3 separate regions of the Homo sapiens genome follow, and all the other regions are linked to region 3. Evidence: promoter capture Hi-C in human tissues and cell types (Jung and others, 2019). All regions are on one chromosome and are shown on one strand. Each heading gives the region's core, a stretch centred on a gene start or on the middle of the fragment in contact. The rest is flanking DNA. Distances are from core to core; before and after follow the strand shown.

What was found. The method cuts DNA at HindIII sites, captures the fragments that hold promoters and counts their contacts. A contact is called where the count stands out against the background at its distance.
Region 1: the fragment with the promoter of TSEN2 here is called in contact with a fragment that was not itself captured in region 3 in 1 of the 25 tissues and cell types used here (dorsolateral prefrontal cortex).
Region 2: a contact is called between the fragment with the promoter of MKRN2 here and a fragment that was not itself captured in region 3, in 1 of the 25 tissues and cell types used here (aorta).

Annotation. Positions count from the first base shown.
Region 1 is chr3:12,481,282-12,485,841 of GRCh38, reverse strand. It overlaps TSEN2 (tRNA splicing endonuclease subunit 2), which reads right to left and starts at 1,362. Exons shown (of 12, transcript NM_025265.4): 1 at 962-1,362. RefSeq lists an enhancer at 1,019-1,438. The HindIII fragment of the contact is 10,904 bases long and covers 1-4,560 here.
Region 2 is chr3:12,554,124-12,558,369 of GRCh38, reverse strand. It overlaps MKRN2 (makorin ring finger protein 2), which reads right to left and starts at 1,283. Exons shown (of 8, transcript NM_014160.5): 1 at 1,194-1,283. The coding sequence starts at 1,219. It also overlaps a transcript of MKRN2OS not described here. RefSeq lists enhancers at 564-623, 533-1,056, 1,444-1,503, 1,554-1,663 and a silencer at 1,184-1,273. The HindIII fragment of the contact is 5,756 bases long and covers 1-4,246 here.
Region 3 is chr3:11,381,149-11,385,090 of GRCh38, reverse strand. All of the region lies in intron 19 of ATG7 (autophagy related 7), which reads right to left. Among named protein-coding and RNA genes, the nearest start is that of ATG7, 110 kb to the right of the region's middle. The HindIII fragment of the contact is 5,508 bases long and covers 1-3,942 here.

The sequences.
Region 1 (4,560 bases), core at 113-2,612, 1.1 Mb before region 3:
GAAGAGCGGTGCCTGAGGTGCACAAAAACATATAGGAAAGACTGGGTCAGTTGTCAAGAGGTTTGGGATGCAAAGGTTGGTTTGGAATTGGAGTCACTGCAGGTTATTTAGAATGATGATTGAAAAATGCAGATTAAGAAAATTAAACCTGGGAGTGGTACATCACACAGTGGCCCTCAAGCTTACCTACCCTTAACTCCTCATGCCCAGGCCTCACCTGCAATCAATTACATCAGAATTTCCTGGGTGGACCCAGCTGATTTTAACATATAGCTAACCACTGGTAACAGCAAGGTCTATTCAAATTCACTTAATCCCAGTAGCCCCCGGAGGTAAAGACTATTTTTATTTCCATTGTACAGATGTGGAAAGTGACTCGGAGGGGCCGGGCGCACCCCTGAGAAATCTTTACTTCTTATTTCCCCAACCTGCGCAACCTGACTCCAGAGCTGCATATTCTTACTTTCTATTAAAAGCAGAGTCTGTTTCTTATTCTTCCCTCGAGCACACAGGCTAACACCTCTTAGGTGATGGTAAATGTCTATTAGAAAAACAAAAAAGGGAGAGGTGGCTCCATTTAATTTTCCAACCTTCCTGGACTAGGTGCCAAACAAACCTGGTTAAAAAACCTCCTACCCAGCAAATCTCACCTTCTCCCAACCAAAACACGCTTCAAGCTCCATCTGCGCACCTCCTGGGCTTAGGGAGGCAAGGATGAAAGGCACAAGGTAAACAATCCTGCCTCTGGGGAGCTTTCAAGTTAGAACCTGAGAATAAGCCATATAAACAGATGACCAGCCTTTGAAAGTTGTTGTCAGGATTAAATGCATAATTTTGCAGAAGGCGTTTCGTTCGGGGCCTACCACGTGGAAAGCGCTCACCAGACGACAGCTGCAAATAAAATAAACTGCGCACCCCAACAGCGTTAGGGGCCCCGCCAATTCCTAACTCCCTGTCTTACCCCTTTGCTTCTTTCCTTGACTACCCCCACACCCGACCGAACTCCACCAGAGGCTGCGGCTCCTCTCGGGCATTGTCAGCTGCACCTTGCGCCCCAGCCCCACCAGCCCTGAACAAGGCGCCGGCGTTTCCAAGAACCAAGGGCTGCAGGCGCACGAGGAAAGCGCGGAGGAGTCAGTGACCGGGCGCACTCGGAAGCCTGGCTCCCCGTCCCGGCACTGTCTCGGCCGGCTGTGCGACCCCAGCACAGTACCTAGGCCCTTTCCTCTCTCGCCCTGGAGGACTTTCGGAAGAGCGAGATTTCCTTTCGCTGCAAAACACCAAACTCGGAAAGGGCCGCGCTTTCCTCGCCCAGGGCCCTTACCTTTCTTGGCCCCACGCGCTCGCCGTTACCCCGGCAACGCCGGCCGTGGGGCGGACACCGCTGCCGTCAAGCAGTGCGGCCGCAAAGCCAGCCGAGTGCGCAGCCGCAGAGCTCCCGTCGGGACTTGGCGGAGTGCGCCTGCGCACGGCCGGCTGGCGGGTGTTCTGTGCGCCAGCTCTGCCACTGCGGAGTATGAGGCGGAGGCTGCGTGCGCGCTTTGCTGCTCTCTGCAGGATTGTACGGAAGCCAGAACGATCCTGCAAGACGCATTTTACAGATGAGATGCAGTTACCCGTCAAATGTCACATAGTCACGTGGGAGGTGGGAGAGACCTAGAATCTTCGGCCCTCGGTGGATGGGATGTTTGAGGCGACCGACAGGACTTTATTAAATGGCCCTGAGGAAACTGATCTCATCTTTCTCAATGTAGAAAGAGGATCACAGCAGCGCACCTGTGTACGCTGCAGCATGCGGGGAACTTGCAAGGACGTTTTCTCTGGCAGACACCTGGCCAGAAGCCTCTGTGTGCCCAGACTGCCTGTGCAGTTAAGGGACAATAGGCGGCAGGTCCACCTGCTCTGCATCCCCATTTTCCCCCCTCACTGGCTGCGTGAGCTTGAATGACTGACAACCTTTCTGAGCTTGAGTTTACTGAAAAATGGGCCATCAGAATTACGGGAGATGAGCAAAACTGGAGTGCAATAGGAAGTGTAAGTTTCTCCTGACCTGGTTATTTTAAAGGAGCCCTGTGGGGAGTCCAATATATACTTTCCCAAATATGAATCACAGGAGTTCCACCACACAGACTAAGCAGGAGGCAAAGGAGGATGGCAAGGAAGTGTGGCAAATACTGCTGGAGAGATTCATGGTGCTAGATGTGATGATGGATGTTGAATTTTGGACTTCTGCCAATGTTCTTGCCTCCATTCCTTCACGCATGCTGTTGCCTCTATGTTCCCTCCCCTCTGTTAGCTGCAGTAATTCCTGGTCAGCCTTTAGGTCTCAGCTCAAATATCACCTCTTCCAGGAGACTTCTTGCCTTCCCAGACCTGCTTGGGTGACTTGCCTCTGTGCTCTGCAGTAGTCTGGCATGGCATGTGTTGTCCCTGTTTTTCTGGCCCTTTTTATTTTTTGAGACGGAGCCTGGCTCTGTCGCCCAGGCTGGAATGCAGTGGCACCATCTCAGCTCACTTACCTCACTGCAATCTCTGCCTCCCAGGTTCAGGTGATTCTCCTGCCTCAGCCTCCCGAGTAGCTCGGATTACAGGCGCCTGCCACCACGCCCGGCTGATTGTTATATTTTTAGTAGAAACGGGGTTTCACCACGTTGGCCAGGCTGGTCTCAAACTCCTGACCTCAAGCGATCCTCCCGCCTCGGCCTCCCAAAGTGCTGGGATTACAGGCTTGAGCCACTGCATCCTGCCTGGCCCTTTTTGAACTGCACTGTGGGCTTGCTCTTGGTAGAGTGAGATCATGTCGCAGCATTCAGTGGGTCCTCTGCTGCAAGGACCTTCACTGCTAGGCTAGGGAGTTCAGGTTTTAGATAAACCAAAATCAAAGAGCTTTGTGGTAAGAATGTTGCAAAAGAAAGGGAGAAAATTGGCAAGAGTCACAGGATATGGTAACAGGATGGATTGGGCAGGGGAGAGACAGCTGAAGAGAGGCTGTAATATCCGACCAGAACATGCCAATTTAAGAAATACTGGTTTTAGAATTAGAGGGCTTTAACAATGAAAGGGATTCAGAGGTTGTCCAGTTAAACTTCCTTATTTAACTGATAAGAAAACAGTTCCAGTGGCACTGTGAGTTGTCAGAGATAACCGAGCAGGTCTGAGGTGGGGCTGAGACTAGAGCCAGGTCTCTTAAATCCCATCCCAGCTCGTGGAAGGATTTGGGGTTTGCTGATAATGGGATCTCAAATTCCCCTCCCAAAAACATAAAAAAAGAAATTAAAAAAAGAAAAAAAATCTGTAAATTTTAAAAAAGAAAGAAATTTTCCCCAAGACTTTCTCAAGTGCATTTTAAACCCTTTGATATGGTTATTTTCAAACATACAACACAAAAGTAGAGAAAACAGTCCAATAAATCATCACTTCTGGCCGGGCACGGTGGCTCATGCCTGTAATCCCAGCACTTTGGGAGGCTGAGGCGGGTGGATCACCTGAGGTTGGGAGTTCGAGACCAGCCTGACCAACATGGAGAAACCCCATCTCTACTAAAAATACAAAATTAGCTGGACATGGTGGTGCATGCCTATAATCCCAGCTACCCTGGAGGCTGAGGCAAGAGAATTGCTTGAACCGGGGAGGTGGAGGTTGTGGTGAGTCGGGATTGCACCATTGCCCTCCAGCCTAGGCAACAAGAGTAAAAACTCTGTCTCAAAAATAAAAAATCGCTTCTACAACCTTCAACCTTTGGTATCTCATTTCTTTTGCATTCTCGATATACACACTTTTATCTCCTTGCTGGAGTATTTTAAAACAATCCCAGACATGATATAACTTCATCCATGATATTTCAGTAGGTATCTCTAATAGATAAGGACTTAATTTTATTACAATACATCTGCATCTACATATATATATATATATATACGCAGACACACACACACACACACACATATATCAACTGTGTAGTTCATTCTCATTATTTGAGGTAATTCTGTTCTATAAAGTTGCCACAAACACTGAATTAGTAAATACTGAACCATGTTTCCAGGAGAAATACAAGATACAAGGTTAGGTGTCTGTGAGTCTCTGGTCACAGCATTTTCATCAACTGGTCAATATATAACCTCACTTCATGTGTTTCTGTTTAAAGACACCTTACATATGTTGATTCATCAACACTGAACTCGCAGCCAACAGCACTATAACTCCTGCCTAAAGGAGGCTTATCTAACACACCTATTCTCTCCAATAAGGCACATTTCTTGGGTGGGGAACACCAGACAGCACTTCAGCACTCCACTTGGGGCCATTTTAAACAGTTAAATCACCAACAAAAAGCACAAAAATGTGAAAAACATGGCACAAACTAGAGCTCAAAAAAGCATACTTATTTATGGTATGAGAGCTGAAACAAGAAGGCAGAGTCTCCTTGTTCACCTGCAGCTGGGAATGTGCACACTGTGTGACTCAAATTTTTTGGTATTCTGTGCATGCACACATCTGCAGATGACTGTGACAGTGAAGTATTGATTGTGATGTTACCAATAAGTTTTAGCAACTAGGTGA
Region 2 (4,246 bases), core at 34-2,533, 1.2 Mb before region 3:
TAAAAATACGTAAACACACACAAACCCGTCTTCACAAAACACCTTCTAGTACAAATAACCTAGTAAAAGTCTTTTTATAGACACTAGGTGCAAATTTCTGACAACAGCTTAACATAAGCCACCTGGGCCTTGGATAAATTGAACAGTAAATGTACACTAATGCTAACAGAAAACTTACTACACAGTCACGTCTCAACTATTCATACCAATGAAGAGAAGTAACAACATAGAAAATAAACTGTTTATTACACAAACTCTATAACTGTTTTTAAGCAATGTTTCCCATAAAAATTATTAAATGAAATTTGCATTTTCCAAGCATACAATTCAATTTGCGTTTTCCAAACATACAATTCAATAGGACTAGACTCCATTACCAGTAAGCCACAAGCTGACCAAGCAATGAGGGTGTTACACAACCACACTATTCTATTTCATAGGAGCAGTCGTAGTGTAGCTATCTGGCTATTTTCTACAATAAACCATCCATTACCGTCGCATTTCTCCTCGTAAATGGCTCTCTCAGTAAGATAAATGAGTGTCAACGTCTTTCGGTCTCAGTTTCCTGCACTGTAAAATGGTAATAATAACTACTAAGTTGTCTTACTGTGAAGTCTGATGATAATGAATATAAAGGACTTGGAAATATGCAGGGCGCTTCGCCGATATTCACAATATGCTACCTGTCGTTATTTTCCACACAACAACTTTTACTTGTTAACTCTCTGCAAGTTTAGATTGCATCTGGATTCTCCAAACTTTGAGGCCCTCATAATCGATTAACAAATTACTCCTATGTGGTATCCCCATTTGTAACCGTCCTCTCGGCGTCCCTTTACTCAACTTCAAATCTTTTCCAGTTAAAGCGTAAGCCCCAGAGCCTTCCCGACAGCGCCCCGGCATCCTGCACGGCCCTGGCTAGGACGTCCTTCCTCCCAGCCCACAGGGGCCACGCTTCAAACTCGGGGCGTAGCCCCCCGCGCTGGCCTCGCCCAGCGTCTCGGCCACGCATCCCCCGGATCCCCGGCTGTGGCGGCAGCGCTCGCTCTGCCTCGCAAAGCCCCGCCGCGAACAGCCGAGTAACTTTCCGAGTCCCGCTCTAGCCTCAGGTTCCCGGACCACAGCACTGGCGCGCACCGGCCCCCCTGCGGCCTGGGGGAGCGGCCCGAAGCTCCTGGCTCCAGCGCACTGACCTGCAAGTGATCTGCTTGGTGCTCATGGTGGCTGGGCTGAGGGACCGTCGTCGTGCCGCCGCCTCTCGCAGCCGCTGCCGCCTCGGCCTTGGCCCTGGCCCGGCCCATCCCGCGTAGCCGCGTCACGCCGGCGCACGCCGGCGCACGCCGCCCCTCCGGTGTGGCACCTTTGTAGCGCCGGCGGGTAACCTAGCCGTCGTCACAATTGGTTCCGCACCGGGGATCGGGCCGGCTGTCCCGGCATCCCTGCTCTCGGTGTCCCGCACTTCCAAGCCTCCGGGGCGGAGCCTGGCTGGCATCTTAGTCCTGCCAGTCTTATCCCGATGCCTACTGTTAGTGCCTGCGATTCTGCCCCGATCGCCAAGAGTATTCCTTAGGGATCTCCCGCCTCCTTCGAGGCACTTCACCACTCCTGGGGAAACTCCAGCCTCTCCTCTTAATCCCGGATGCCCCTATCCATTCATACTCGCACTCACTGGGCACCCTTCTCAGGCCCTGCCTCAACTGTTCCCGCCGGACCTCGCCTCCCACTTAAGGAAATTCCTTAGCTCTCTCCCAACTGCTCTTTCCCCAAATCTCTACTTCCACAAGTTTTAGTCTTCATTTTCTTTCCTGCCAGTCTTGTGCTGCTCGTCTTCCATTTCCTATGGTGGAAACCCCAAAAGTTATTTTTGACACTTCCCTCTAGCTCTCTATACCCTGCAGATTCTGCTCCCACACCTCTGTCCAATGCGTCCTCTTCTGCCCCCTTTCCACCGTCCCTTCTACCTAGCACCATGCGATACCTTTTTTTTTAATTATTATTATTTTATTTTTTATTTTTTTGAGACGGAGTTTCTCTCTTGTTGCCCAGGCTGGAGTGCAGTGGGGCGATCTCGGCTCACTGCAACCTCCGCCTCCCGGGTTCAAGCGATTCTCCTGCCTCTCAGCCTTCCACGTAGCTGGAATTACAGGCGTGCACGCCTGGCCAGCCATGCGATAGCCTTTTAACTGGTCTTCTGGCTTCCGTTCCTGGTAAAAATCTATTTTTAAAACATAAATCGGATCATGTCATTCACCTTTTAATCTTACAATGGTTTCTCATTGCTTAAAAACTCGAGATACATAACATGCACAATATAAGTGCACCAAACACATTCTATGAATTTTTGCACATGCATACACTCATGAAACTACCACCCAGATCAAAATAAAGAATTTTTTGTTTTGTTTTGAGGCAGGGTCTTGCTCTGTCGCCCAGGCTGGAGTGCAGTGGCGCCATCATAGTTCAAGCAGTCCTCTGCCTTAACCTCCCCAGCAGCTGGGAATACAGGTGCGCGACACCATGCTCGACTAAACTTCAAAATGCTGGAGTAAGGAGAGGTTGAGCCGGAAGGATCCTTTGAGCATAGTTCACTGCAGTCGAGGCTGCAGGGGGTGGGTGGGGGCTGGATATTATCGACACCCCAGAAGGGCTTCCTTATGGTCCTTCCCAGGCAATACTTTACAAAGGTCATTGCTTGGGTTCATCTCTATCACTATAAATTAGTTTAACTGTTCTTGACTTTCATATAAATAATAATTCAGTACCTACGCTTTTGTCTGCCTTCTTTTGACCAACATTTTATCTGTGAGATCTTTCCATGTTATGTATGTATAGCTGTATGTTCTTTTTTTACTTTGCTATAAAAATATTGAGTCTTCCAATGAATGAGCATGGTATATACTTCCAATTATTTAGAACTTTTGAAATTTTTCTCAGGAATTTGGAAGTATACTGGAAATTTTGTTTTCAGTGTCTTGAATATTGCATTTTAACTCATAACACATTTGATCCATGCAATTCATGCTCATAAAAATTACACGTCTTTTTTTTTTTTTTTTTTGAGACGGAGTCTTGCTCTGTCACCCAGGCTGGAGTGCAGTGGCATGCTCTTGGCTCACTGCAACCTCCACCTCCCGTGTTCAAGCGATTCTCCTGTCTCAGCCTCCGGAGTAGCTGGGATTATACAGGCGCACGCTGCCACGCCCAGCTGATTTTTTGTGTTTTAGTAGCGACGGGGTTTCACCCTGTTGCCCAGGCTGGTCTCGAACTTCTGAGCTCAGGCAATCCACCCGCCTCGGCCTCCCAAAGTGCTGGGATTACGGGCGAGAGCCACCGCGCCCAGCCCATGCCACTTATTTTTAAAATTCAGCTTATCTCATTCTTTATGGAATACATTCACGATCTGAACGTTATTATGTTCAAATATTTTAAAAGCGTAAAGTGAAAAGTCTCAGTCTCCTGTCAATTTAGTTCCCGCCTCTTCAAAACAAAAAGCAGAAACATTTTTTAAAACCTCAAAACCTGGCCACTGTTATCAAATTTGTATACATCTTTCCAGAATTTCTTTAAATATACACAAGTAAATACATATATATTATTTTCTCCTTTTTGTAGAAAAGATAACATAACGTACTGTTCTGCACAGCGTACATAATCAGTGGAGATTTTTCCATATCAGTACATAGAGCCTCTTCCTCCTTTCGTAGAACTGTATAGTATTCCGTTGTACGACTATGCCATAAGTTATTTCATCAGCCTTGTACTGCTGGTGCCCTTTAGGGTGTCTGTGCAAATAAAACACTGGATCGGGCACATGTTCTCAGGATCTCCTGAGGTCTGTGTCATGGGCAATATATATATATATTTTTATATTTCATATATATTTCATATATTTCATATATATTTATGAAAAAATAATACAACACTGGATCAACGACAGCCAGTGTGCACTTCCACAAGCTGTACCCAACAGCTTGGTTCCTGCCACTGTCATGGTACTTAGCACTTAGACTTTTCCCGAAGGATGCAAGCAGTCTCCACTTGGGGTTCTTCCGGCGTTATCTGGCGCTGGGCACTAAACACCAAGTCCTGCCCCACCCGGGACGTGGAACTCACTTTCCTCACCCCCAGGGAACCCGCGCTGGCAGAGAAGGCAGGGCCACTCGCTCCTGCCCGTAGCAGGGGCGCGTAAAACTGCGTCTGCTTGCTAACCACCAGCTCCCGTTCTCGCCCCTTAGGAAAAGCAACT
Region 3 (3,942 bases), core at 749-3,248:
GCCACTGCACTCCAGCCTCGCAAGTGAGCAAGACTCCGTCCCAAAACAAACAAACAAACAAACAAACAAACAAAAACACTATTTAAGCAGCTAAGTTGACTTTTTGTTATTTCATGCTTCTTTCTGGCGGGGGTTTTGGGGCATGGGCATGACAGAGTCTTGCTCTGTCGCCCAGGCTATAGTGCCATGGCATGATCTCAACCTCTGGGCTCAAGGATCTTCCCACCTCAGCCCCCCAAGTAGCTGGGACTACAGGCATAGGCCACCACACCTGGCCAATTTTTGTATTCTTTGTAGAGGCAGGATTTCACCATGTTACCCAGGCTGGTCTCAAACTCTTAGGCTCAGGTGATCTGCCCACCTCAGCCCCCACAAAGTGCTGGGATTACAGGTGTGAGCCACCATGCCTAGCCTTTCATGCTTCATAAGTAACAAGAAAACATGATAGAAGGTAGGTAGGATTATATAATATCAAAAAAATAAATGGACAGGCTGGCTATAACCAAGGCCAAAACAAAGTACGATTTACCAGCTGACATTTATTATTCCTACCTAACCCTTACCCTATCACTCTTCAAGATATATGCCCAGATACACACAGAAAGCTAATAGCAAGTCACTTTGAGGAGTTTAATCATAACCCATCAACAGAAGAACCTATTGCATAGTCAACACCAGAATGAGTGTATTATTAAGGTTGCTAATCACTGAAATCTCAAGATCAGGTTTCTGGGCACATCTTGCTGCATCTGCGCAGGTCCCAGATGGTATGCAAACCAAGTTTGGAGCCTGATTCTTCACAACAGGCTGTTCTTGCACTATCAAGAAGGTTGTGAGTAATAGAATTGTGCAACAAGAGCAAGAATACTCTGCACGCAGTCTCCTCCTGCACAGTCCTGCTCCTGACTCTGCAGGTCTGAAAAAAGGTTTTGGTCAACTTCTGGGTACCAGAAACAAGGTTATTATTGCAAAGAACACCTGAAGCTGCCTAGCTTTACTCCTTTTAGAGAAGGACTAGTCATAATATACAACATACTTCCCCTTCCCCCAGAATTGACTGGGAAAGGGTACCTGGGAACTTTCTGGAGTGATGGAAAAACACTAATATCTTGATAGGAAGAGTGTGGGTTACATGGGTGTATACATTTGTTAAAACTTACGGAGTTGTTTTAAGATTCATACATTTCACCATATATAAATTTTACCTAGGAAAAAAAGAACTATGCACAAATAGGAACTGAAGGTTCTAGGTTTATTTTCTGTAGTAGTATGGGCTAGCAATTTTGAAACTACTTCCTGTATTATTCTAGACTTCAGCAAGTGAGTAAATATATCCAGGATACGGCTGGATGCGGTGGCTCACGCCTGTAATCTCAGCACTTTGGGAGGCTGAGGCGGGCGGATCACGAGGTCAGCAGTTAGAGACCAGCCTGGCCAATGGAGTGAAACCCTGTCTCTACTAAAAATACAAAAAATTAGCCAGGCATGGTGGCAAGTGCCTGTAGTCCCAGCTATTTGTGGGGCTGAGGCAGGAGAATCGCTTGAACCTGGGAGGCAGGCGGAGGTTGCAGTGAGCCGAGATTGCAGGTTTCTCACTGTTGGAGAAGGTAGTCAGAAATATGGAAAAGGGAAAACTAGCATCACCGAAAGGTATATAATATATTATATAACTCCTGACATGAGGAGACAGCATCACTTCTTTGGTATTTCCACCAAAAATTCATAACCTGAATCGAATCATAGGGAAACATCAGACAAATCCACATGGAGGGAAATTCTACAAAAATAACTGGCAAAATATCAAAACACTGAAGTTAAGAAAGATAAAGAAAGATGAAGTAACTTTTCCAGATTGAAGGGAGCCAGAGACACGACAACTAAATGCAATGTTTGATCCTCAACTGGATCCTGGTCTGGAAGGAAAAAACCTATAATGAACATTAACTGGTATAAACAACAACATTGAATACACAGACTGTGGATTAGAAAATAGTATTGTGCAAACATTAAATTGCCTGAATTTGATAAGGATATTGTGTTTAGGTAAGAGAATGTCTTTGTTCTTTGGAATTCACATTGAAGCATTCAGTTTTAAAGGATCAGAATGTCTCCAACTTACTCTCAAAATTTCAAGAAAAAAATGGGGTAGGGGAAGGGAAGAAGGAGGGATTGGAGGACGACAGCAAATATACGTGGGGCAAAATGTTAACAATGGATGAATGTGGGTAAAGTGTATACCGGAGTTCCTTGTACTATTCTTCCAATGTTTCTGTTAAGCTTAAAATTATATCAATAGAAAGTTACCCAAAAATACTCTGCCAAAAAATATTTAGGTGAAAGTCTAACAATAACAAAGTAATTTAATGCACTACAGGAAATTCTTTCAGGAATATTGATTTTAAAAATTATACTTTTCCCTCTGGTAGTAACACCACAATACTCTAGTTAGCTTGGAATTTCTTTGTAGAAGTAAAGAGCAACTCATATAAACGTCAAATAAGGTCTTTTGAAATTTCATTGACAAATACCATCTGTTTAGAAAGTTCTGCAAGACAATAAGTAGAAACTGGAATGAAAGTGACTCCTCACCACCCACCTCTCCCCACCATCCTTCAATATTTTTCCCCTAAGATGGAACAATTCACCTCGTTATGTGCCAACCTAAGATCACATAGGATAAGAAATGATTTATGGATAAATGTTCCAACTTTCCTGCTTTAGAAGCAAAGCACTGTATTCTTCCCCACCTCAGGCTACATAAAAAGCTCTCGCTCGCGTGCGTGCGTGCTCGCACTCTCTCTCTCTATATATATGTGTATATAATGTATTGCTTTGTTTGTTTTTAATAAATAAGATAATGAACAAGTGCTTCACTATTCAGCAGAAACTTATTCTACTTCCCCAGTCTGTCTCTATTTGTGGTTAAATCAAGACACAAGCATGGCCTTGATCCTGGTGGGGAGGAGGAAACATACTGAAAACTACCAAAGGAAAAAATTACTTCATGAATGTCAAAGGATAAATTTTTAAAAGTAATTTTTAGCCCCAATCTTTTGAAACAACAACTATGACATGACTCTGTATAACATGTATTATACTAAATATACATTAAGAAAAATTCAAATACACAGAAATGAAAATGTAATTGGATTTGTCATTTTAAAGTATTAATGTTGGGTTTGCAGATAATAGAGAATGACAATCTCCTAAGCAAATAAAGAAGGTAGCCAAGTAAGTAAATGCTGCGTTTCTACTGTAAGGAAATACGTGCACCAATGAAGCAACCTTTCCAGGACAAAAGAAATTTAATACTCAGACCACATGAAAAGTGACCGCTATGGGAATAGCACAGCTGTTAAAATCCAAGTCAGTTTGTATTAAATCGTCCAACATGTTTATGTAAAGCAGGACTCTCAAAATGATCACCAAGAGGAAATAATTTTGCTAACAAAAAAGTGATACCTATATTTAATTAAAAGCTTACAATAAGTGTGAAAGAAAAATGCTAAGCTATTCTCTTTTAAAGTATAAGGAACGCCCAGTTAGATGGTATGCTTGTGATTCTTTTATAAACAGTATCTGAAAGGCTAATTTAATTAGAAATAGAACAAGAATGAATGAGTGTTTGCATTTCACTTAGAGAACCCAATTATCTTTATTTCATTGACTAGCCAGACCAACATAAAGCCATAGAAAACCTGGCACCTGTGCCAAATGATTTCAGTATGAAAATTAATACTGCCAAGTTATTTTGAGACCAGTTAGCTCAACCATTCAAAGAAAAAAAAAATCTGCTCCACTAAAGATGTAGTATACAATCCTAAAACTTGCATTTCTGAAGATGGGGGTGCATGCAGACATCCTTGAGGTCCTGGCTTGAGCAGATATATCTTAAAGGAAACTACAGAAAGAATGGGCTCATGGGTAACTACTGACAAAGTC